Linked DNA regions of Homo sapiens: regions 2, 3, 4 and 5 are each linked to region 1. Evidence: promoter capture Hi-C in human tissues and cell types (Jung and others, 2019). All regions are on one chromosome and are shown on one strand. The core of a region is centred on a gene start or on the middle of the fragment in contact, and the rest is flanking DNA. Distances in the headings are between cores, read along the strand shown. Region 1 holds the start of NIPSNAP1 (nipsnap homolog 1). Region 2 holds the start of SEC14L3 (SEC14 like lipid binding 3). Region 3 overlaps HORMAD2 (HORMA domain containing 2). Region 4 holds the start of OSM (oncostatin M). Region 5 overlaps HORMAD2 (HORMA domain containing 2).

What was found. Contacts are between HindIII fragments. The study calls those that stand out against the background at their distance.
Region 2: the fragment with the promoter of SEC14L3 here is called in contact with the fragment with the promoter of NIPSNAP1 in region 1 in 4 of the 25 tissues and cell types used here (aorta, hippocampus, mesenchymal stem cells and 1 more).
Region 3: a contact is called between a fragment that was not itself captured here and the fragment with the promoter of NIPSNAP1 in region 1, in 3 of the 25 tissues and cell types used here (dorsolateral prefrontal cortex, mesenchymal stem cells and spleen).
Region 4: a contact is called between the fragment with the promoter of OSM here and the fragment with the promoter of NIPSNAP1 in region 1, in 6 of the 25 tissues and cell types used here (IMR-90 fibroblasts, adrenal gland, dorsolateral prefrontal cortex and 3 more).
Region 5: a contact is called between a fragment that was not itself captured here and the fragment with the promoter of NIPSNAP1 in region 1, in 1 of the 25 tissues and cell types used here (bladder).

Annotation. Positions count from the first base shown.
Region 1 is chr22:29,579,588-29,584,849 of GRCh38, reverse strand. NIPSNAP1 (nipsnap homolog 1) reads left to right here and starts at 3,737. Exons shown (of 10, transcript NM_003634.4): 1 at 3,737-3,865. The coding sequence starts at 3,768. RefSeq lists a silencer at 3,931-3,980 and an enhancer at 3,964-4,576. The HindIII fragment of the contact is 21,243 bases long and covers 1-5,262 here.
Region 2 is chr22:30,468,398-30,473,424 of GRCh38, reverse strand. SEC14L3 (SEC14 like lipid binding 3) reads left to right here and starts at 1,408. Exons shown (of 12, transcript NM_174975.5): 1 at 1,408-1,520; 2 at 2,843-2,918; 3 at 3,170-3,213; 4 at 3,347-3,406; 5 at 4,729-4,917. The coding sequence starts at 1,467. The HindIII fragment of the contact is 19,065 bases long and covers 1-5,027 here.
Region 3 is chr22:30,121,501-30,126,285 of GRCh38, reverse strand. HORMAD2 (HORMA domain containing 2) reads right to left here. Exons shown (of 11, transcript NM_152510.4): 9 at 4,497-4,654; 10 at 4,072-4,322. Among named protein-coding and RNA genes, the nearest start is that of HORMAD2, 43 kb to the right of the region's middle. The HindIII fragment of the contact is 8,876 bases long and covers 1-4,785 here.
Region 4 is chr22:30,263,965-30,268,602 of GRCh38, reverse strand. It overlaps OSM (oncostatin M), which reads left to right and starts at 1,752. Exons shown (of 3, transcript NM_020530.6): 1 at 1,752-1,837; 2 at 3,459-3,601; 3 at 4,139-4,638. The coding sequence starts at 1,804. RefSeq lists enhancers at 2,349-2,448, 2,509-2,588, 3,974-4,638. The HindIII fragment of the contact is 14,267 bases long and covers 1-4,638 here.
Region 5 is chr22:30,156,781-30,161,653 of GRCh38, reverse strand. The region is part of intron 10 of HORMAD2 (HORMA domain containing 2); the gene reads right to left. Among named protein-coding and RNA genes, the nearest start is that of HORMAD2, 79 kb to the right of the region's middle. The HindIII fragment of the contact is 4,795 bases long and covers 1-3,804 here.

The DNA.
Region 1 (5,262 bases), core at 2,488-4,987:
CTCCAGCCTGGGCGACAGAGTGAGACCCTGTCTCAAAAAAAAAAAAAAAAAAAAGAGAAACAAAATTATTCCTGTACTGAATGAGAGGCTGCCATCACATAATCTCCACCCATTCATTATATTCAACTGTGCTTTCTTCCTGGAAGAGCCCTCAACACACACCCCTCATTTTTTTTTTTTTTTTTTTTTTTTTGAGACAGAGTATTGCTGTCACCCAGGCTGGAGTGCAGTGGCACAATCTCCACTCACTGCAACCTCTGCCTCCTGGGATCAAGCCATTCTCATACTTCAGCCTCCAGAGTAGCTGGGACCACAGGTGTGGCTACCATGACTGGCTAACTTTTTGTATTTTTAATAGAGATCGGGTTTTGCCATGTTGGCCAGACTGGTCTCAAACTCTTGGCCTTAATTGATCCACCTGCCTCGGCCTCCCAAAGTGCTGGGATTACAGGCGTGAGCCACCGCGCCTGGCCTCTGGCAGCCCCTTCACATACTGAGTACACATTGCTTCCTCTGAGTTTCCGCTGGTCCTTCCCTCTCTCCTGGCAGACTCCTACTCATCCTTTGAAGCTCAGGTCCAAAGTCAGGTTGGCGGAGGTGGTCACTTCCACCACTCCACAGTCAGTCTGCCACGCTGGGTTCCTAAGGAAAGAGCTGCTCCCACCACATGACACCATTTGCTGTGCTTCCATCAACCCACCTGGGTTTTTCCTGAGTGGCTTTGACTGGGGACTCTGCTAAGATCATACTGACTTTGATTTTTTTTTTTTTTTCGAGATGGAATCTCTATCACCCAGGCTGGAGTGCAGTGGCGCGATCTTGGCTCACTGCAACCTCTGCCTCCTGGGTTTAAGCCATGTTCCTGACTCAGTCTCCGGAGTAGCTGGGGTTACAGGTGTGCGTCACCATGCCATGCCTGGCTAATTTTTGTATTTTTATTTTTTATTTTATTTATTTGTTTGTTTTGTTGAGACGGAGTTTCGCTCTTGTTTCCCAGGCTGGAGTGCAATGGCGCGATCTTGGCTCACTAAAATCTCTGCCTCCTGGGTTCAAGTGATTCTCCTGCCTCAGCCTCCTGAGTAGCTGGGATTGCAGGCACATGCCACCACATCCGGCTAATTTTTATATTTTTAGTAGAGATGGGGTTTCATCATATTGATCAGGCTGGTCTCGAACCCCTGACCTCAGGTGATTCCCCTGCCTTGGCCTCCCAAACTGCTGGGATTACAGGCATGAGCCACTGCGCCCGGCCTAATTTTTGTATTTTTAGTAGAGATGGGGTTTCACCATGTTGGCCAGGCTGGTCTCGAACTCCTGACCTCAGGTGATCCACCCACCTTGGCTTCCCAAAGTGCTGGATTTACTGGCATGAGCCACCGCACCCAGCCTGATTTATTTATTTAATTAAAAAATCATAACTCACTACAGCCTGGACCTCCTACCTCAAGTGATTTTCCTGCCTCAGCCTCCTGAGTAGCTGGGACTACAGGTGTGTGCTACCATGCTCAGCTAATTTTTTGAATTTTCATAGATCCTCCTGCCTTGGCCTCCCAAAGTGCTGGGATTACAGGCATGAGCCACCACACGTGGTCCTAATCTTAAAATTATTATTATTTTTTTATAGAGACTGGGTCTTGCTCTGTTGCCCAGGCTGGAGCGCAGTGGTGCAATCATGGCCTGGCCTCCACTCCCCCCATGCCAAGCATAACAGGAGGCAACCACTAGTCAGTGGGTGGACATTCTTTTGGGGAGCTGTCCCTGCCCCTTTGGAAGTGGATAGAGCCCCTGCCCCCTGTGGGGTCTGCAGGCTCTCCACCCCTGCCAATGTCTGTGATCTGGGGGATTGTGGGCTGAGAAGGGATTAGTTTAGAGGGCGGGCAAAAGAGCTGGGCAGGGCAGAAAGAGGCCCCAGGATTTTCAGGCAGAGAAGTCAAAGGGGGATGAAAAGGGGAAAGGAGATGGTGGAGATAAAGTGTCTGCAGCTGACAGCCTTGCCCCTGTCTTCACTTGTAAGGAAGTTTGTTTCTTTGATGGTGATAAACCTGGCATGTGAATGCCTTTCCCCAGAGAATGCACCACAGAGGAGCACGTAACGTTGTATACAATTTCAGGGGGCTTACTGATGCAACCCCTTTGCAGAAATTTTAACAGTGAGAAAATTATGACAGTGAAAGTGATCTGACCTAACCGACTCCATTTTGCTTCTAACCCCCAAACTGTCCATATTCATTCCTGGGCATAGGCCAAACTTACAGTCTTTTTGTTTGTTTTTTGAGACGGAGTTTCGCTCTTGTTGCCCAGGCTGGAGTGCAGTGGCGCGATCTCGGCTCACTGCAACCTCTGCCTCCAGGGTTCAAGAGATTCTCCTGCCTCAGCCTCCCGAGTAACTGGGATTACAGGTGCCCGCCACCATGCCTGGCTAATTTTTTTGTATTTTTAGTAGAGACGGGGTTTCACCCTGTTGGCCAGGCTGGTCTTGAACTCTTGACCTAAACTTCTGATCCACCTTTGCCTCCCAAAATGCTGGGATTACAGGCATGAGCCACCATGCCCGGCAGCAAATTTATAGTTCAACTTTGAAACAAAGATAACAGCCCTCTCCCAAAATAAACCCCTTTCTTGCCTGGGGACCAGACTGCTTTTGTAAGACTAACAAATTAGCCACGAGATTAGAAATTACGGTTTAGGAGTCATGCAGGTAGTGGCCACAGATTCTAAACCTCCCCAGTTGCTCCTAGGGATAACATCACTACTGTAAAACCTAAGATTGGTGCTCAAGATATTTTTCCGATCCTGCACTCAATGGATCCGCTGGCGATACACAGATTAAGAAACCGGATCATCCGGTTTTGTGGCCCCCACCCAGAGATCCACTCAGCACAAGAGGACGGCTTCCACTCCCTATGATTGCATCTCCGACCTGACCAATCAGCACTCTCCACTCTCTGGCCCCTACCCACCAAATTATCCTTAATAAAACCCAGTCTCCGAATTTTCAGGGAGACTGATTTGAGTAATAATAAAACTCCGGTCTCCCATTCAGCCGGCTCTGCATGAATTAAACTCTTATTGCAATTCCTCTGTCTTGATAAATCCGCTGTCTGGGAAACGGGCAAAATGAACCCATGGGGTGGTTACACTGACCCTCTGCTGCACATCCCGGACAGCCTTGTTAAGAACCCTTGGTAGGCTGGGCATGGTGGCTCACGCCTGTAATCCCAGCACTTTGGGAGCACGAGGCAGGCAGATCACGAGGTCAGGAGATCGAGACCATCCTGGCTAACACGGTGAAACCCCGTTTCTACTAAAAATACAAAAAATTAGCTGGGCGTGGTGGCAGACGCCTGTAGTTCCAGCTACTCGGGAGGCTGAGGCAGGAGAATGGCGTGAACCCAGGAGGCGGAGCTTGCAGTGGGCCGAGATCGCGCCACTGCGCTCCAGCCTGGGCGACAGAGCGAGACTCCGTCTCAAAAAAAAAAAAAAAAAAAAAAAGAACCCTTGGTATTATTGTTCCACGCTCCCATTTTACCGAGGTGGATCCTGAGGCCCAGAGTGGGCAAAGGGCTTGCCAAGGTCGCAGAGCGCGCAGAGGATTAGAACCCTGACTTCCGTCCAGCACCTGCGGAGTTGGAGACGCCCACAGGAAACGCCCACCTGACCGGGTGAGTGAGGGGGCGGGCGAGCCGGAGGGGTGGAGTTTATTCGCGCCCCGCCTCCGCCACCAGGGCTTGGGGGCGGGGCCTTCCTGCAACCTTTGCGGCTCCAACATGGCTCCGCGGCTGTGCAGCATCTCTGTGACGGCGCGGCGGCTGCTGGGGGGCCCGGGGCCTCGCGCTGGGGACGTTGCGTCTGCAGCTGCGGCGCGGTGAGAGCCCGGCCAGGCAGGGATAGACGCGCGCGGGGTGGGGTGCAGGCGCGGGGGCCAGGGACTGGGTCGTGGGGGAGGGGCTGAGACTCCTCGCTTGGAATCTGGGGGTTAGAGGCGGGGCAGGATCAAGGCCTAGGGAGGGGTCTGGGCAAAGAATGGGGGAGGTGAGAAAGGGATGGGTAGGGTCTTTGTCCTGGTTGGGACCGGGCTGTGATGGGGACCTGATGAAAGATGGTGAGAAGGGCAGGTACTGGGCCCTGGAGAGTGGGAGAGGGCAGAAGACAGGAGGAGTGGCCCATTCCCAGGCGTAGCTTGTGATTTAACACCCACTGGGGGCTTCTGGTAGTCAGCTCCTCCGTCGGGAAGTTCTGTGGGAAAGAGATGATGGCAGGGGAGCAGTGGGGGATCCCCAGGGGCCATGGCTGCACAGACCCTTTGTTCCTCCACCTCGAACTGTACAGGTGGGGAAACGGACCTGAGAGGGAATGGGAGTTGTCCAAGGTCACCCTCCCTGCTGTGCCGTGGCAGCACCAGGTCTGGGACCCAGGCCTGCCAATGCGCCATGCACTTTGCACCCAACTGGTGGCCTCCTGGGAGTGGGAGTCTGGCTGGGCCATGTGCTCTCAGCCTGGGCTTTTGTTTGGGCCCTGCTCTGGGCTGAGCTAGGGCTTGGCCTCCCTGACTGGCCCTGGGCAGCCCCTCACTCCTTGGTCCCCACAGCCCTGTACTTCCCCCATCTCTGCATATATGACCCTGCACAGTTATGACTTGGTGCTTGTCTGTCTCTCTCACTAGACCATGATCTCATTTTTCTCTGTTTCCCCAGCCTCCCACCCTCAGAGGGCTCAGGACTGTGTATGGTCAAGGAATATTTACCAAAGAAGTGAGGCCACCTGTTCCCCCTCCCCCAACCTGTGAAAAGGAAGCAACCATCCCTCCTGCCCTGCAGCCCAGGAATGAAGCTGCAAAGTTCTGATAGTGCCTGCCATGAGATGTTACAGCACAGAGCAGTGGGGCTTTTGGACAGCTGGGAAAGAGGAGTGGCATAAGCGCCCCACCTAGACTGCCCAATAATTAGGGATAAAGCTGACACCGTGGGAAAAGCCTAGAGTTTGCCTGGCACTAACAGATCTAACTCAGACTTTGTAGGTGGGGTGACCTCAGGACTCTTTAAGCCTCGGGTTCCTCATCTGTAAAATGGGAGTAATCAGGATGTATCTCATAGGGTTGTTGAGGATTAAAGATGCTGTGGTTGGTCGGGTATGGTGGCTCATGCCTGTAATCCCAGCACTTTGGGAGGCCGAGGCAGGCAGATCACTTGAGGTCAGCAGTTCAAGACCAGCTTGGCAACACGGCGAGATCCTGTCTCTATAAAAAGTACAAAAATGGCCGGG
Region 2 (5,027 bases), core at 159-2,658, 890 kb before region 1:
CTCCTGAGGAGACCCCCAACCCTCCCTCCTGGCTCTCCTTCACAGTCTCCGATGCCCCTAGAAGTAACTAGCACACCTCACATTATAGGGATTAGGGTGAGAAAGGAGACTGGTGAGAAATGGGCAGGATTAGTGGCTCGGGAAAGGGCAGTGGAGGAACCCAATCTCTGTACATTACTGGCCTGGCAGGAAGTGGGTGTAGACAGCAGCTGGGGCTTTGCAGAAATTGAGGCTGGAATGTGAAATGGGGCAGGGCTGGGGTGTGGAGAGTTACCTAACTGTTCCTGAGTACATGCCACGGGCTCCCCAGGCAGAGGGAAATGGCCAGCATTAGCCCTGCCTTCTCCTTCTGGATCCAACTCTGTGAGGAGCCCAGAGCAAGGAAGATGTCCCTGAGAAGATGTCTGATACTGACCAACATCTACTAGCCTAAAGAGACCCTGGGTTAGCCCAGAATAGAGGCCCACTGTAGCTCAGGGGTGGGTACCCAGGATGCCCCAGGAGTAGGGGACCTAGAAAAGCCCTAGGCAGAATGGTGTGGGCTAGCCCAGCTGCTGGGGCCGAGGCTAGCCCGGGGTTGGTTTCAGCCCATGCAGACCCCCTCAAGGCTGAGATGTGGCCATGTGGCCATGTGGCCATGCTGCAGCCTCAAGCTGATGGTTTCTTCAGAGAGAGTCATGGATAACAGGGTCTCTCCCTTCCTGGAGCTGAAGCTTACAGCTCCAGGGGGGACCAGGAGAGCTGAAGGAGAGTATCCCTCAGATGCACACAACCCTTGACAGTCCCTATGTCTCATTAGATCTTCCCTCTAACCACATAAGGAGGGGAAGGCAAACATTAACGGCCCCATTTTATAAATGAAGCAAGTGACGTTCAAAAGATGCCATCTGTCCTCTTCTTGACTGTGGACACAAAAGAAGGACCTGGGCCTCCCACCCCCAACAAAGTGAATGAACTGTTTACTACACTGACCAAGCCTCAGAATCCTACCCTTTCAGAGCTGGGTAGAGGGGGGTGATCTTTGCAGAATCCTAAGTGTGGGAAGACTGGGGCTCAGGGAGAAAGGGTACCCACAAGGAGCGGTCCTCATTCTCCTGAAACTCCCCCTTCTCCAGGGCAGTGGTCACTGGAGGCCTGGGAGGGTCAGCGGGTTCTACAGGCACTCACTCTGGGCTCCAAGGTCACGGGAGGCCAGCCTCCCTTCCTCCCAGCTGCCTCCTCCTGGCAGGGGACCTCTGGCACACGCTCCATGCCCGCCTGCCCCTCCAGATCTGTCCCCAAGCCAAGCAGGGGACCTCACTTAATCCCAATTATGTAATCTGCAATTTAAACAGTTGGCCCATGAGGAGGCGCTTGGAGCCACGCCCAGGAGTGGGGGCAAAAGGACCCAGCTGGGTCAGGGCTGACAAACTAGGCTTGGCCTCTTGCCTATAGTGGCCACCACTCCTCAAGCCCCAGCCAGCACCATGAGCGGCCGAGTTGGAGACCTGAGCCCCAAACAGGCAGAGACCCTGGCCAAGGTGAGAGCCCCTCCCCCTGGAGTTCCGGAAGACCAGGGGAAAGGGGCTGGGGGGTGGAAAGAAGTGGCTGGAATCCTGCCCCACTCAGTTGATTCAGCATGTCCTTGACATTGTCTCTTTGGTGTTACCTCCCAAAGGGTCAAGCCCCACGGTGCCCAGTAACATCAACCCTGTCCCGGGCGGGGGTTGAGGGACTAGCACCACTTCCAGGCAATAACGTGGGTGGTGCCCACCCAAGTCAAGCCTGACTTCTTCTCATCCAGGAGCCAGAACCAGAGAGGTTTACCTGGCAGCCAGGTACCCCCGTTCCTCCCTCCCAGGCACCATAGGTAGGAGCTGAAAGATGCTGCTGGTCTGCCCTTTAACCCCTTCCTCTTTGGGATCCTGAAAGATGACCAGTCTGTAAAAGCCCAAGAGACAGAGCAGAAAGTGTTGTCTTTCAAAGAGCTAAAGGAAGAAGAGGACATATAATTATTAACCATGTTTTAATAGAAGATGGGATGAAAAAAAGCAGATGTTTTGAGGGCTAACACATGGAGGGAACTAAGAATGCATCCAAACTCCAATCCACTTATTCATCCACCCAATTATTTATCCTTTCTTCTTCTTTTTCTTCTTTTTTTTGAGATGGAGTCTCTGTCATCCAGGCTGGAGTGCTGTGGAGCGATCTCAGCTCACTGCAGCCTCTGTCTCCCAGGTTCAAGCAATTCTCCTGCCTCAGCCTCCTGAGTAGCTGGGATTACAGGCATGTGCCACCACACCTGGCTAATTTTTGTATTTTTAGTAGAGATGAGTTTTCACCATGTTGGCCAGGCTGGTCTCAAACTCCTGACCTCAGGTGATCCACCAACCTCAGCCTCCTAAAGTGCTGGGATGACAGGCGTGAGCCACCATACCTGGCTGTTTATCCTTTCTTTCATCCACCCATCCCTCTTCCTACCCACGCAGCCACCTATCCATCTTTCTTTCTCTCAATCACCCACCCATCTCTCCTCTGTCCATTCACTGATTTATCCACCCACCCACTCTCCATCCATCCATCTATCCATTCATCCATTGATTTCTTCTCCCTTTTTCCATCTACCTACCCACTCACCCATCTATTCTTCTTTCTAACCATTTATTCATCCATCTATCCTCCTTCCATTCATCCACCTATCCAGTGATCCATCTGCCCTTCTATTCAACCATTAACCCATCCTTTCATCAATGTGGGCCATTTTGCATGTGGGAGGAAAGGAGAGGTTGTGAAAACAGTCTTTGAGTCTGGAGGCCAAGGCTCAATGTGAGAGAGCCACTTTAACCAGCATCTCTCTTGCCAGTTCCGAGAAAACGTCCAGGATGTGCTTCCTGCCCTGCCCAACCCTGATGATTATTTCCTTCTACGCTGGCTCCGAGGTGAGGGCAGAGGTGGGAGAGGTTGGGATCAGGGGGCATCAAGAGGGGCCTGGTCTCAACTGCTCCAGAGTGTCTCATGGCTCTCAGGGTCCATCCACACAATCTTGCTTCACATGTTCAGGTCCAGAGGAGGGAAGGGGGTAGGGGAGCAAGGTCTCACCCAGGCCCCCAGTGTCCTCCATAGCTCCCACTGGCCAGGAGTAAGACAAGGCATCTTTCCTGTCTCACACCTTCCTTCTGTTTTCCCACAGCTCGGAATTTTGACTTGCAGAAGTCGGAGGCTTTGCTCCGCAAGGTGAGACCTATCCACTCTGGAAATTTATGGAGGGGATTTGTCAGGGGCAATCCATGCCTCAAGCCCCTCCTTCCATCCCTGTTCTCAGGGCACTGGGAGCCCAGTGGGATCTTACCACTCATTTCCCTTTCAGTACATGGAGTTCCGGAAGACCATGGATATTGACCATATCCTTGATTGGCAGCCCCCAGAGGTGAGCCAACACCGCCAAACACCTCAGTCTTTCACGGACGTACCACTCAAGGTCACTGGGGACCATGAATGAGGGGCAGCAAGCCTGAGAGGCCTGTGGAACCCGCAGGCCTGCAGTCTCCTTTCCTACAGTCATAATGAATGTTTCCTGGGGGCTTGCAAGGTCCAGGCCTAGGTTAAGATGTTAGCAGCATGAGCTTCTTTAATCATCACAATGATGGATGCTATTGTCCCCATTTTGTGGATGAGGACACTGAAGCCCAGCAAAAATTAGGTAACTTGCCCACAGTCCCATAGCCCAAGGTAGGGCTGGGATTTATGCTCAGGCCTGTTTGGGCCCCCAAACCCAGGCTCGTAACCACCACGGTTAGCCTGTGCTTCTGCACCCCTGCCCCCTAAGGCATTGCCTAAAGCATCCTGTCTGGGTGGGAAAGAAGTTTAGCCCATCAAGGCACTGATGAGGACAGTGCCACCACTGGCATCTTAGTAGAGTAATGGTCACGTCTTCACTTGTAGGGCATGTACCCGGATCTGGGCACTCTGCTTTGCCAACTTTATCTCAGGGACTTTCCCCAACAGTCCCAAGAGTGAGGGGTTATCCAAACCATTTTACAAAAAAAGTAGGTAGAATGGAGCTCAGAGAGGTGGTGTCACTTGCTCAAGGACACACAGTACAGAAGCAGCAGTATCTGCTTTTTTTTTTTTTTTTTGGATGGGGTCTCACTCTGTTGCCAAGGCTGGTGTGCAGTGTCATGATCATGGCTCACTGCAGCCTTGAACTCCTGGGCTCAAGTGATTCTCCCACCTCAGCCTCCCAAGTCTACAGATGTGTATTACCACAGCTGGCTAATTTCTTTTATTTTTGTAGGGACAGGGTCTCTCTCTGTTGCCCAAGCTGGTCTCAAACTCCTGGCCTCAGGAGATCCCATCTGCCTCAACCTCCTGAGTAGCTGGGATTACAGGCATGAGCCTCCATGCCCAGCCAGTGTCTGTTTTTGAACCAGCTCTGTTAACCTTCAGAATCTGTGTTCTCCATCACTAAACCCGACTCTTCTCCACAGAAAGGGACACGGGAGACATCAGGGGCAGACCTAAGAAGTCCAAGGGCCTGCTGAGACCTGGCTTTGCCATTTACCCTCTGTGAGCAAGGCCCTCCCCTGCAGGACCTCAGCTTTCTCACCTGAGACAATAGCACTGTCTTCCAGGGAGGGACAGTGCTTTTTATACCATGGTGTGTGTAGGCTTGGGCCACCCAGGTCAGCCTGGTCTGGGGTCTCAAGGGAGGTGTGTAATGCCAAGTTCTGTGCATCTTTTCATGCCCAGGTGATCCAGAAGTACATGCCTGGGGGCCTGTGTGGCTATGACCGTGATGGCTGCCCCGTGTGGTATGACATCATTGGGCCACTTGATCCCAAGGGGTTGCTCTTCTCAGTCACCAAGCAGGACCTGCTCAAGACCAAGATGAGGGACTGTGAGCGCATCCTGCATGAGTGTGACCTGCAGACAGAGAGGGTGAGGTCCAGGCCAGGTGGGGTGGATGGCTGGGGGCAGGTGAGGCTGCCGGGGGGATTGGTCTCAGAAACACACCTGTGTTCTCTACAACCACAGTCAGAGGGCTCTGG
Region 3 (4,785 bases), core at 222-2,721, 540 kb before region 1:
GAGACAGGAGAATGGCGTGAACCCAGGAGGCGGAACTTGCAGTGAGCAAAGCAGAGATCGCACCACTGCACTCCAGCCTGGGAGACAGTGGGAGACTCCGTCTCAAAAAAAAAAAGTCCATACTCTATGATTCCATGTCTATAAAATAAAGAGGAGAAACTAATCTATGCGAATAGAAGTCAGGATAGCAATATTCTTGTGAGCAGAATAGTGACTGTAAAATAAGACTGGGGGTTTCTCAGGGTCTGGAAGAATTCTATTTCTTGATCTGAGTGCTGATTTCACATATTTATTCAGTAGGGTTGTGACAAAGACAAAGCAAGCAAGATGTCCAGGGGGCAAAATGTAAGGAGGTCCTTACTCTTGGCACCTGAGATCTTCCTTAAAATATGCTCCCTAGGCACCTTGCTTGCATCACCCTCATCCCAGCTCTAGTGTTCAGTTTGTGAATATTTATTGAGCTGTATCACTGATACATATGTTTTACTGTATGTTTATTATTCTTGAATTTAAAAGTGTTAAGAAAGTCTGGTCTATTTCACTCCATAAATGAAAATAAACTTTAAGTGGATTATAAACCTAAATGTAAAAAGAAAAGCATTAAAACTTTTAGAATAAAATATGAGAATATTATTAATGACCTTAGGTAGAGGATTTCTTAAGGATATCCAAAAGCACATATTAAAGGAAAAGATTAGACTATATTAAAATTAAAAACTTACATTGCTCAAAAGACCTCTTAAAGAAAGTGAAAGATGAGCCAGGCACAGTGGCTCATGCCTGTAATCCCAGCACTTTGGGAGGCTGAGGCGGACGGATCACCTGAGGTCGGGAGTTCAAGACCACCCTGACCAACATGGAGAAACCCTGTCTCTACTAAAAATACAAAATTAGCTGGGTGTGGTGGCACATGCCTGTAATCCCAGCTACTCAGGAGGCTGAGGCGGGAGAATCACTTGAACCCAGGAGAAAGAAGGTTACCGTGAGCTGAGATTGTGCCATTGCACTCAGGCCTGCTGGGCAACAAGAGGAAACTCTGTCTCAAAAAAAAAAAAAAAAAAAAAAAAAAGAAAAGAAAAAGAAAGTGAAAAGATGAGCCACAAACATGAAAAAAATATTGCAACATAAATGAGTGAAAAAGAATTATTACTAAGCACATATTTTTTAAACCATTGAGGAAAAGATAAATAACCTGAGAGACAAATGCATGAAAGACATGAACAGCTATTTAATATGAGCAAAATAGGATGGCCAAAGAAAAGATGCACAAACACACAAATAATCAGAGAAATTCAAATTAACATCATGAGGCATTACCATTTCATATCTAGCAGACTGGCAGGAAACATAAACCCTGACAATAAGTGTTGGCAAGAATGTAGGGTACTCTCCTTCACTGGGGGTAGCGAGTAAGTTGGTACGACCACTTTGGAAAACAGTTTTGCTTTACCTAATATAGTTGAAAATACACAAGCCTAGAACTGTTTCATATATTCCCAAGAGACACTCTTTGACAGGTGTACCAGGAGGTATGTACATGAATGTTTATAGCAATTAAAAAGAATGTCTATCAAGAGTAGAAAACTCTACAGCAGTGAAAATGAAAGAACAATAACACAATGGCTAAATCTCAACTTTGAAGTTCAAGCAAAAGAAAATTAAAGGAGAATACTCAGAGTATGATTACTTTGATATACAAATTTAAAACGAGTAGATGTACTCATCCATGGCAAAACTATAAAGAAGAGCAAGGAAAGGTTATCATGAAGGTCAGGAGAGTGGTTACCTTCAGAGGGCGTGCAATGAGGAAGGGACACGTGGTGGCTTCTAAGGGAGTAGCAATGTTCTACATCTTAGCCTAAATGGAGGACATATGGATGTTCTCATTATTCTTTAAACTGTACATATTTTTATGTAGTCTATTATATGTATATCTCAAAATAAAATTTTTAAAAGAAATAAAGATTCTACATATGTATACACATGTATGTATGTGTGTGTGTGTGTGTGTGTGTGTGTGTGTGTGTGTTCCATGTATTCCATGAAGGAAAACAAAAAGGAATCCTTAGTGGGAAAGTGACAGTAACCACTTTACTAGACTTACTAAATTCTCTCATATGTTTGGCTGGCTGAGAGAGAAACTTCAATCAACTAAGTTTACCACAAAGTCCATATAATACATATAGTTTCAACTAAATGTATGCTTGAGAAGGATTATCACATTTCTTATTTAATCTATTAGTTGAACTATGCGTTCTTAGGTTGTCCTGCTTTCATTTGATTAAAAAAAAAAAAGAAAGAAATTCTTAATTAAAAGGTAAAAATCTAACCAGGTGTGGTGTAATCCTAGCACTTTGAGAGGCCAAGGCAGGAGGATCACTGGAGCCCAGGAGTTCAAGATCAGCCTGGACAACATAGGGAGACCCTGTCTCTAAAAAAAATAAAAAATAAGCTGGGTGTGGTGGCGCACACCTATGGTTTCAGCTACACTGGAGGCTGAGCTGAAAGGATTACTTGGGCCCAGAAGGTCAAGGCTGCAGTGAGCTGTGATCAACTACTGCACTCCAGCACTCAAGCCTGGACAACAGAGCAAGACTCTTTCCCTAAATAAATAAATAAATAAATAAATAAATAAATAAATACCTAGCTGAGGCCCAGTGTGGTGTCTCATACCTGTAATCCCAGCACTTTGGGAGGTCAAAGTGAAAGGATTGCTTGAGCCCAGGAGTTTAAGACCAGCCCTGGTAACAGTGAGACCCTTGTCTCTACAAAAAATTAAAAAATAAAAAATTAGCCAGGTGTGGTGGCATGTGCCTATAGTCCCAGCTACTCGAGAGGCTGAGGTAGGAGGATTCCTTGGCAAGCTGAGGCACCAGTGAGTCATGGTTGCACCACTGTACTTCAGCCTGGGCAACAGAGCGAGACCCTGTCTCAAAAACAACAAGAACAACAACAAAAAAAACTAGCTGAAACATTCTTTTCTTAACCTTCATTTTTTTTCCCCTTTCTATGTTAGCTATATCTTCCTTGGGTGAAATTGGAAGAGGAAAATTGCACCAAAATCCAAAGTCATTTTTATGTCTAACATCGAGAAAGCACTAAAAATTTAAAAACAATCTGTTACTTGTTTGGTTATATTATTTACATTAATTGAATTAAAACTAGAACAACTAGAACCTCTTTTCAATGTATTAAACATAATACAGAGTTAAAGAACTAGAAGGAACCTTCAGAAGTTACCTAGTACAGTCACCTATCTTTAAATAAGACTCAAATTATCTTAAGCAAACAAGTTATCATTCTAATCTTAAAATATCTCCTGAAAAGATCTTATAGCATCCCTTCCTACTGAAAATTTTTTGTCTAACTCAGAACCCTTTTAACACAATGTTGTCATACAGTTAACATTATTATCCAGACAACCACCAGTTAAGGGTGTGGAGTTACCTAGGGCATAATGGGACCCTAGCAAGAATCTAACTCCAAGTCTCTATTGGTGGAAATGGGAGGATAAAGGGATCAGAGACCTGACTGTTTGGCTCCACTAGCTCCAACCCCACCAACCCCCTGACTTTCCCCAGTGAGTTAGCCCCAAAGCTTGTCTTCCTCCACATAACCAGAAGTTAACTATTATTTGTTTTCACGCTGACTCGGGTTTATCCATAAAATTTATCTTCCCCAACTCCTCCCATCCAATTATCTCAGTATCAAGAACTGATTTATACTTCCAATGAGTATGAATAAATACCTAGAATATTTTTCAACCCTAAAATTATGTCATTTACAAATAAAGGAAAGAAAACCTCAAATTTTCTAAATTTATGATATCTTTAATAAAATAAATATATTAGAAAATCTTTTTCCTCCTAGTTATGGACAATTTCATCTGATAAAGTATATTTCCTTTTAGAAGATTAAACTTTTTTAGATTAAAAACTCCTTGATGTCAGAGACTAGTTTTGTTTCAGTTTTTATAGCTGGCACACTCCACGTGCATGCCCTGGGTAGAAACTGAAAAATATCAATTGTGTTTAACTGACACGATAGAAAATCTCTAAAGCTTTGCCTTACATGGTCATTGCATTCTTCTTCCTCATCACAGTCTAGACCCTGATGGGCGATCTCAGTAGTGCTGTTCTCCCGAAACAGATTGTTCTCCAAATCAATCACTTTTGTAGCCTCTGTCATGACTTTTACTTTCATGCTATGAAAGCCAGTGGAGACAAATCCCACTTGCACGTTGATAGGCTCCTTGTCAAACAGCAGGAAGTGTGAATTTACCCCTTCTTTAAAACCGAGGGGTTGGTAATCATGTGGGGTCACTGCGAAATGAAAAGGGCAAAAAGCCATGAAAACTGAGTTTCAATACAACAAATCCGATTAATCTTTCATGTGTAGCAACAGACTTCTCTTTCAGATGCCTGCAAAATCCTTTTACTTATAGAAAATATTAGCTCAGCACTTAAGGAGGAATTTGCCTAAAGTTCTCTACCTACCTGCATTATAGTAGTGGAGTTTCATAGTAAGTACAACATTATTAGGAAGTGGCTCAAGGTCCTGCATCAGTATATACAATTTACGGATCAGTAGAACACTGGCTTTCTTAATATCTTCATTGTTTGTTCCACTTTCAAAGCTTGTACTGCTGCTATGACTACACAGAAAAAAAAGCATACTTTTTGATCATATACAATAGTGGCAATCTATCCCAAAAGGAACAAAACTTTTGACTATGTGAGTAAATATAAATTAAACATTAGTATATTTTGAGACTTTTTTAGAATG
Region 4 (4,638 bases), core at 503-3,002, 690 kb before region 1:
ATGGAGAAGGATCCCCTCTTGGCATGGCCCCAGGAAACAGCATTGTGGGGGTGGGCACAGAGATGAGGACTTCAGCGGAAGCGACATTCTCAGGATGAGAATCCAGAACTGGCCCCTGGGGGTGGTGAGGGGGAGGTATGAGGCCTGGTGTGGTGAGTCCCAGCCTGGGTGCCGGGGAGTGGGTAGGGGCTGAAGAGCAGCCTCCTGGGCGTGGGGTCGCCTATTTTTGCCTACTACGTGATCCTCAGACCTGGGAGTGGCTGGTGCAGCATGGAGCCAAATAAAGGTTTGTCGAATGAATAAATGAGTGATGGGGAGAATGGGTGGCAACTGCCTTGGTGGCCACAGTGGGCATCGGGAGCAGGCATGGACAGGGGTGCATCCAACCTCCTCCTTTCTGGCTGCCCCAGCTCTCCTTGCTCAGGCGCCCCAGACCCCATGCTCCCTCCAGCTGGAGCAGCTCAGGCCTCCCTGGCAGCCTCCAGGAGTCCCACCCTGACTCCCCAGACTCCTGAGGGCCTCCTCCCACCCGGGCTTCTTAGGGTGCAGGCCAAGGACCCTCCTCTGGGCCTGGGAGATGTGCTGACCAGGCAGGGTCTATAGGCCTGGGCCAGCCTCTTGGCCTCCCTGTCTGCCTTCACCCAGGCCTCAGTTTACCCCACAGTAAAGTAGCAGTTTGACTAGGGAGGCGCTGTTCCCAGGGCCCTTTCGCAGAGGACCAACCTAAGATCGCTATCTTTCAGAGAAAGTGAAACCTGGTCCCCAACTGTCAAGGCGGCAACTCCCCCTCCCCGGCTTCCCCTCTGAGCTCACAGCTTCCCCATCTCCTCCTTCCCCCATCCCGCCCCCTCGACAGCTAATACTTGGAATCAGACCTTCATCTTTGCTTTTTCCTTCAGAGGTCTTTTCCTTTTATGTCCATGCTGGCAGCAACCCTGTGAGGTGGGCTGGGAAAGGCTTTTCTCCTCCTCATTTTATAGTTGTGGGTCTCTGAGGCCCAGAGAGGTTAAGTGACTTGCCTCAGGTCACACAGCACCTCAGCAGGCTTGAACCCTGGCCTCCTGTTTCTCTTGCTCCAAGTGTCCAGTTCTCCCCAGTGGAGCCTGCCTACAAAGACAAGGCCTGGCTTTGGGGAGTGGGCCTGGCAGAGGGTGCACGATGGGGGAAAGGAGACCGTCGGGAGCCGGGCTGGGGGATGCTGGTCCTGGGGCCTGAACCACAATCTCGGGGCTGCCAGCCTGCGTCTGGCTCTGTGCCCAGAGCCCGGTGGTTTCCGCTCACAGATGTCCCAACAGCCCCGGCGAGAGGGCAGGAAGGGCACTCAAGAAGGAAGATGTCTCGCTCCCCTCAGCCCCCAACCACCGTGTCCTGTGAGGCCAATGGCTCCTGGGCCAAGACTGGCCTGGGGCCTCCAGAGGCCCAGCTCGAAGTCCCTCCTGCCCATCCCTGGCCCAGTTCCCTGAAGATGGCATGGACCCTTTTCCTCCCCACTCACCCTAGGAAGGCTGAGGCTGCGGTTTTACATCATCCTTGGGCGTAGGGCTGACCTCGAAGAACGAATTCGAAGAAAACAGGAGGAGGAGCGGGCATACACCGCGCCCTGCGCCCATTGGCCGCCCGTGGAAATTTTGGTTTTTGGGGTCATGTTCCCAGAAGGCCTGCCCTCCCCCCTCCCCATCCCCACCCACCTCATGAGGTGTTGGCCAATCGCCCCAGCGGGCATAAAGTGGCTGCCAGCCTGCAGGGCTCCCAGCCGAGAGGTGTCACCCCCAGCGGGCGCGGGCCGGAGCACGGGCACCCAGCATGGGGGTACTGCTCACACAGAGGACGCTGCTCAGTAAGTACTTCCTTCCTCCCCGCCAGAACCCGCCTGCTGGGTCTGCCCACGGGTGCCGGTGGGGAGCAGAGGCACCCTCTGCCCTCCGGGAACTGGGGAGGCCAGGCGCCAGGCAGAAGGATGCTGAGAAGGGGAGAGAGCCAGGAGGTCAGGCAGAGAGAGTGGTCCACTGAGAACCTGGCATCTCCACAGGTAGAGAAGGGGCATCCCTGGAAGGCTTCCAGGGGGAGGTGATGTCAAGATGTAGAGGCAACTCTGGGAACCAGGGGGTGAGAGAATAGGATGGGCAAAGAGGCTGGGCAGGAGAGGGAGGCTCAGAAGCTGGGCAGGGAAGTGGTGTGAGGTGTGGAGGGGTTGTGGGGCCTCCAGCTTGCCCGGGATGAATAGAAAGTCAGCCAGGCCTGGGGGCCCCAGGGCCCACACAATCACACAGCATGCACAGCCACACCCACATGGCCACATGCGCACACAGCCATATGACGTCATCTACAGCCCTGGATCTCACCAGCCCAGGAACCCCCACATGCAGACCAGAGTCCCCATGGTGAACGGAACAGGTCTCCCTCACGCCGCACACAGACCCAGATGCACAGCCACACAGAAACCCCAGTCCCACGTGCGCTGCCACAGGCACAGGCCCCTGCCAGAGCCCGGCAGCAGATACCTGGGGAGGCGGCGAGGGTGCCGTGGGGTCGCTAAGCCTGGGTGCCTGGCCCCTTGGCCCTCCCCAACAGCCAGTCTTCCCCAAAGGGCCGGATGGTTCTTAGGACGGGAACGATGGTGTCACTGCCTTCCGGGCCATTGCGCCATAGGCCCCTTCCGACCACGTGGCTGCCGGTGCCCCGTTGGGGGTGGTGGTGAGCGGTAACTGTACCCGCCCCCAACACCTTCTGACAGGCTCACAGCATCCCTGGTGGGCCTGACAGAAGGAGCCACTTATGGAGAGAGGAGGGAGGCAAGAGAGGTCAGGGGAGAGCCCTGGCCTTGTGTGACCTGAGTAGGACCTTCTCCTGAGACTTGGTTTACCTGTCAGGAAAGTGGGGACATGGACTGGAAGGTCTTCCACATCTGTTCCAGGCTGCACCTCTGGTTGAAAAGGCAGCCTCTCCTGGTTCTAGACAGAGCTGAGGACACAAGCTGCTCCCGGGCTGCCTGCCCTGAAGCCCTCTCAGGCCCATCTACCTGGATGGCCAGAGCAGCTGACAAGGCAGGTCCTAGGGCAGTGGCCGGTCTTTAGCCCAGTGGTCTTGCAGGGAGCCAGTCCCACCTTGCAGAGAGTCAGCTCCCGAGGTTAGAACCGTGCTGTAGGCAGGACTGGGATCCGGCCAGGCACTGCAGCCTTTGCTCAAAGACCTACTTGGTAAATCGCAGCCACTGTCTCAGTCCCTCCCACTGCTTGCTGTGTCAGGCCCTGGGCAGTGACTTACTGGGGAGATGATGGTGGCCTTGGTGGGCACACCTGGGCACACACCGTGCCACACAGTGCCCAGCCCCCGCCCTCCACTACACAAAGTCTGGGATGAAGGAGGCACCTTTCAAGGCCCTCTTGAACCCCCTCCCCGAGGCTCCCATCTGTGGCTTTCCTCACCAAGTCAGGTGACACCCCTCTTCTCTGCCTTAGGTCTGGTCCTTGCACTCCTGTTTCCAAGCATGGCGAGCATGGCGGCTATAGGCAGCTGCTCGAAAGAGTACCGCGTGCTCCTTGGCCAGCTCCAGAAGCAGACAGATCTCATGCAGGACACCAGCAGACTCCTGGACCCCTATGTAAGCACCTGGGCCCTTGTGGCATCTGAGTCTCAGAGAACTATGGGGTTAGGAAGGGAGTGAGAAGCAGGGAGGACAGGCCTAGCCCCACTCCATATGGCCAGGTCGGGGAACTGAGTCGCTATGTTATTCCAGCCTTAACCCTGAGGAGCTAAGGCTGGCCCTCCAGCTTTCCTAGCTCTGTGGTCCCGGGGCGGGACTCCGGACACCATCACCATGCTCACCTGCTTACTCAGTGTGTTTCCTGCACACCTGCCAGGCTCTGGTCTAGGCACTGGGACGTAGCAGTGAGCAAGACAGAGTCCAGCCCTCTTGAAGCTCTTCATTCCCCACGGGCATCCCACCAGCCCCCCAACATCACTCCGACCTTGCCTGCAGTGATCTTGGGGTCCTCTTCCCTCTCGGGCCTCAGTTTCCGGATCTGTCCAGTGGGAGATTGGATTGGGGTGCATGAGGTCTAGCATTTCAAGGCTTACTTGTCTGTGAGTGTGGTCCGGATCCTCAGCATTCACCCTGTGATCCTCCTGTTCCCGCCAGATACGTATCCAAGGCCTGGATGTTCCTAAACTGAGAGAGCACTGCAGGGAGCGCCCCGGGGCCTTCCCCAGTGAGGAGACCCTGAGGGGGCTGGGCAGGCGGGGCTTCCTGCAGACCCTCAATGCCACACTGGGCTGCGTCCTGCACAGACTGGCCGACTTAGAGCAGCGCCTCCCCAAGGCCCAGGATTTGGAGAGGTCTGGGCTGAACATCGAGGACTTGGAGAAGCTGCAGATGGCGAGGCCGAACATCCTCGGGCTCAGGAACAACATCTACTGCATGGCCCAGCTGCTGGACAACTCAGACACGGCTGAGCCCACGAAGGCTGGCCGGGGGGCCTCTCAGCCGCCCACCCCCACCCCTGCCTCGGATGCTTTTCAGCGCAAGCTGGAGGGCTGCAGGTTCCTGCATGGCTACCATCGCTTCATGCACTCAGTGGGGCGGGTCTTCAGCAAGTGGGGGGAGAGCCCGAACCGGAGCCGGAGACACAGCCCCCACCA
Region 5 (4,873 bases), core at 158-2,657, 580 kb before region 1:
TAGAAAAATGTCAGTTACTTTCTTACTTTCAAATGCCTGAGTAAATAATTATGAATTCCGTGGTAGTTAAAGGTGGATACATTAAATACATAAACACGCTCAAGCACATACTTGAAGTAATTATAAAAATGAAAAAGTTGTTTCTTGGTTTGTGGCATGAATAGAGGAAATTTACAGGCAATGACATGATGGTGTCATTAGATGTACTAAAGTTTGACATACATTTGCTGATTCTTCAAAAAAGAGATGAACAGATAATAGATACAGAATTGGAAATGCAATACCCTGCTTCTCACAGACTTGCTATGTAGGTCATTTGCTTGAACATGAGCCTCTATAAGTGCTTTAGCAGGTGTTGAGAGGAACATAGCATAACTGTAAGTACAGAAATGACTATAGAGATAGGTCCTATAAAATATCAGAAAAAGACCACTTTGGTATGAAAATTGTCTAAGATGGAAGATCTCTATTGGTGCAATATCTAAACCTCAGGTCATAACTGCCTACTCTTGCTGGCAGGAAGGAGAGACCAAAGTAGATAACACTTAGGAACTCTGGCCTCCCCAGTAAAGTTCCTCCACACAAGGCAGAGGCAGAGTTGCAAGATACAGTCACTAAGAAGTCAGATTTTCACTTTAAATTGGCCCTAAATTCAATTGAAGAGAAATAGAAAACCCCTAAAGTGAAGTAGTTGAGTGTTCAGAGTGAGGATAAGTTTTATATAAGGAGCATGCACCTAAACTTAATTTTCATATTATTTATGCAGGAAATGATGAAACATTTTCAAAATTTCTAACACAAAATGAGAATAATCATACCTCTCCTCTTCCTGATCTAGCTTTGAAAAAATATATTCAAACACTTTGTTGTAATTAACAGAATTTTCTACAGCATCAATTTAGTTCAACTATAGTTATTTAATTGCTTCCATTTTTGTTAGTTTTATGTATCTATTTCAATAGCTAATACATTTACATAATATGCAATTCAAAAGGTAATATAAAGGTATATAGTGAAACTTTCCCTGCTATCCCAGAACCATTCAAGTCCCCTTCTAAAAGACAATCACTGTTACTAGTTTCTTTTACATCCTTGCAAAAACCATCTGTACTGTTGTCATTTCAAAATCAACTGCATCACTAAAAACTTAAAACTGGAATAAAATTCATGATATCACCCTCTTCAAGTTGTTTTATTAAATCTGGGCCAGGCCTGGCCACAGTAAGAGTAAATGAGGAAATGGAGGGTTGTGACCAAGTAACAGAACTAACTGCAGGGCCACTCTTGGTCTTTTACGGAGGTGAGCTTTCTTCCCATTCCTCCAGTTATTCTCCCCATCTAGAGAATACATATTTTCCTCCTGACTAAAGAAAATGAAAGAAAACCAAAGAATGGAAAGGTAAAAGAGGAGGGTCAGACAAGCAGAAGATTCAAGGCACCATGCTAAGTGCTATGGTGGTGATAAGGGCAGGGCACAGTGGCAGCAGGACAGCAGGGATGGGCAGTAGAGTTCAAGGTAGTAAGGAACACAGATATGTAAACAACAAACTCTAACTAACATCCAACACAGGTAGGATGAAGTCAGGGCTAAATAAAGGTACAAGCAGTAGGCTGTAAGAATGTGGATGGAAAAGAAGAATGGAGAGAGGGACTTCATGTCAGCTGGCTGAGCATGTCTGACAAGCTTCTTTTCAGAGTGCACACATTTTCCCTGACTCATGAAAACTTAGAGCTGGGAGAATGCCAGAGCAGTGTGCTGAAGCTCAGTCAGTAAGGAAGTCTTTTGGAAACAACATGGAGAGGAAAAAACTAAGGACCTTGCATATACACAAAAAAATAGGAAAAATAATAAAAGCCCTCCTGCAGCTCACAACTGGTCTTCAGTAGTGAATCAGAAAAAAAAAATGAGCATTTTCAAAAGCTTTACTATTTACTTAAAATCAGGGCTGCCAGGCGTTGCTCAACCCCAGGGGTGTCATTCACATTTCTGTCTGTGTTTTAGGTATCCCTGGAATTATGCAGTACACAATCAGCACAGTCATGCATGGCAACCCTGATAGGGCAAACATTCGATTTTTGACTAACACTTTTTAAATTTCCCTATCACTAAGTTTTTACCTGAAATACAGGGTATCCCTTTTGGCTAATATTTCCTATGAAAGATAAACCAAACATTTGGAATATACAAATATGTTTTCTTAAAAACTCAAGGTTGTTGAGTATAAACTGCAGCAAATCTATTACAGAATATGGCTAGATTATATACCTAAAGCATGACATAATATACATATTTTCCAACCTATAAAGATTTTCCGTGATGTGGTAGGGCTTCTCAGTTTCAAATTAAGCACTATTTACTTAGAAATGTAGGGCTAGTTCGAATCTAGCTGGGCCAGAGAGCAGAGTGAAACAGTATTATGGCAGGGCATATGGTACATTTTTATTCTGAGGGCTTTCAAAATTCAATGATTAAGAGTTGAAACTCTCCGCCTTATTTTAGGAGAACTTTTCTAATTTTTCCGCATTGTCTCTCATTTCACTGGCATCATTCTAATTCAGTGAAGCTACAGATGTCCACCAATTTGAAAAACATGACAGTAGTTCATATAAAAGAATTTTAAAATGAGATGTGAAATTGATTTTTTGTGACTAAAGTTTTACCACTACAGGGGCAGGCGCAGTGGCTCATGCCTGTAATACCAGAACTTTTGGAGGCCGAGGTGTGCAGATTGCTTGAGCTCAGGAGTTTGAGATCAACCTGGGCAACATGGTGAAACCCCATCTCTACCAAAAATACAAAAATCAGCCAAGAGCGGTGGCGTGCGCTTGTGGTTCCAGCTCCTTGGAAGCCTGGGGTGGGAGGATCGCGGGAGCCCAGGAAGTCAAAGCTGCAGTGAGCTGTGGATCATGTCACTGCATTCCAGCCTGGGTGACAGAGCAAGACCCTGGAAAGAAAGAAAGAAAGAGAAAGAGAGAAGGGGAGGGGGAAAGAGATAGAGAGAGACAGGAAGGGAGGAAGGGAGGAAGGGAGGGAGGGAGGGACGGAGGGAGGGAGGGAAGGAAGGAAGGAGAAGGGGAAGGGGAAGGGAGGGGAGGGGAGGGAGGAAGGAAGGAAGGAAAAGGAAAAGGAGAGAAAGAAAAAGAAAGAAGGAAAGAAAGAAAAGAAAAAAGAAAAGAAAAGAAAGAAAGAAAGGAAAGAAAGAGTGAGCAAGCTATACCACTACAGTTCATAATTCCTGGTTTTAATAATCCTGATTAGGAAGGGTCTAACCAAGTGAAATCAAGAAATATTTGTCATCCTTAGATATGGCTGTGTTTTATTCTCTTCCTTATGCTTTGTATAGTTGTTGATTATGTAGGAACCAAACTTTTAAGTTTTGTTTTTGTTTTTTTTTTACTTTGTGGATATGAAGCTAACTCCTGGTGATTTTTAGAAGTTACCCACATTTTCCTCTTTTGTGGAAATATTTACACTGGGGATTTCCACTGAGAGAATTGAGGGAGCTCTTTTATTTTTATTTTTATTGGATATAACAACTGAGGCCATATTTCTATTAATGCCTCTTTTTTTTTCTTTGCCCTACTCTAGGAGAGTGTTTATACACTTAAGAATTAAATCTAACAGGTTCACATGGAATATTACATATGTGTTAATATATGTAAAACAAGATCATATATTTGAAAATGTTTGATATAATATCTGGTACATGTTAATAATTCAACACAAATTGGTTGTATTTAGTTGAACATTACCTAATTTTGGTGAAAATGTGATTGCTATAAATGAAATGTGCTCTAAGCTGGCATGGTGAATTTTTTTAAAAAATCTAATTTCTTTTAGGTTATGAGAAGTATAAGGGATCTCTGAGTGACAAGTGAAATTACATATTCAATACCGAAGTCTTTCACTTCAAATCTCAGTTACAAACTTCTAGTGTTCCCATAAATGCAACAGTGGAAGAGAAATATGCTTGAACATGCTTGACTTACAATGAAGAAGAAAAAGAGGATCACAGAAGCTAGAGACACTGAAAACTGAAATGCATACAAGCCAAGACATCCTCTTAAATCCCACCCAAGAAGCAATGAATAGCTTGAAAAAGTATTCGTCTGACTTTTTTTATGGTATAGTGCATAGACTAAGAACCAGGGGGCTGGGTTCCATCACCAACTTGCAAGTTTCCATCACTGTTAAAAAAAAAAAAAGGGAGGGGGATAATATTTGCCATGTACCAAACAGGGATGCTTTGAGGATTAGTGACATAATGTCTGTAAAGAGGCTGGAGTTCCTTGGAAAAAAGACACTACATAAATATAAAGTAGTATTAATATTTAGGCTTAGTCCACAATGTGAGACCTGGTTTCTTTGGCTCATGAGGTCATCAGCAGTTTTGTAAAATGTGCTCAAACACCCACAGAGGAGCTTTGTTAGTCTCCTTGTAAGTGGACTGTAAAGCTAATCTGACCCACCTGGTTGGAGAAGTCACAGAGGCTGTTTTCCCTTTCATGGTCTCCAAGAGGATACAGATGGAGAGTGCTGACTCCTAAAGGAGTGAGATGTGGCCAAGAGAGCACTTCAACAGCATCTACAGCTTCCAAGGAATGTAGTGGGAGTTTGGGTATATTTTGGCTTAGAATTAAACAAAAGCCCAATAATAACATATCTTAATTTAGAAAAAAGGCTAAATTTGCCTCTCAGACAATTTAGAGTAACAGTAGGAATGAAAAAGCTACTTCTTGGAATGGTTAGTTTATATCTTGAAGAGGTTTGGAGGCAAACTTGAATATTTTTGTCCTGGGAAAGTTGTAGTCTGCAGCAGTTTAGTCTCTTTGATGACAACGCCCTGACTCTTCGTCAGTGCTTTTATTGCTG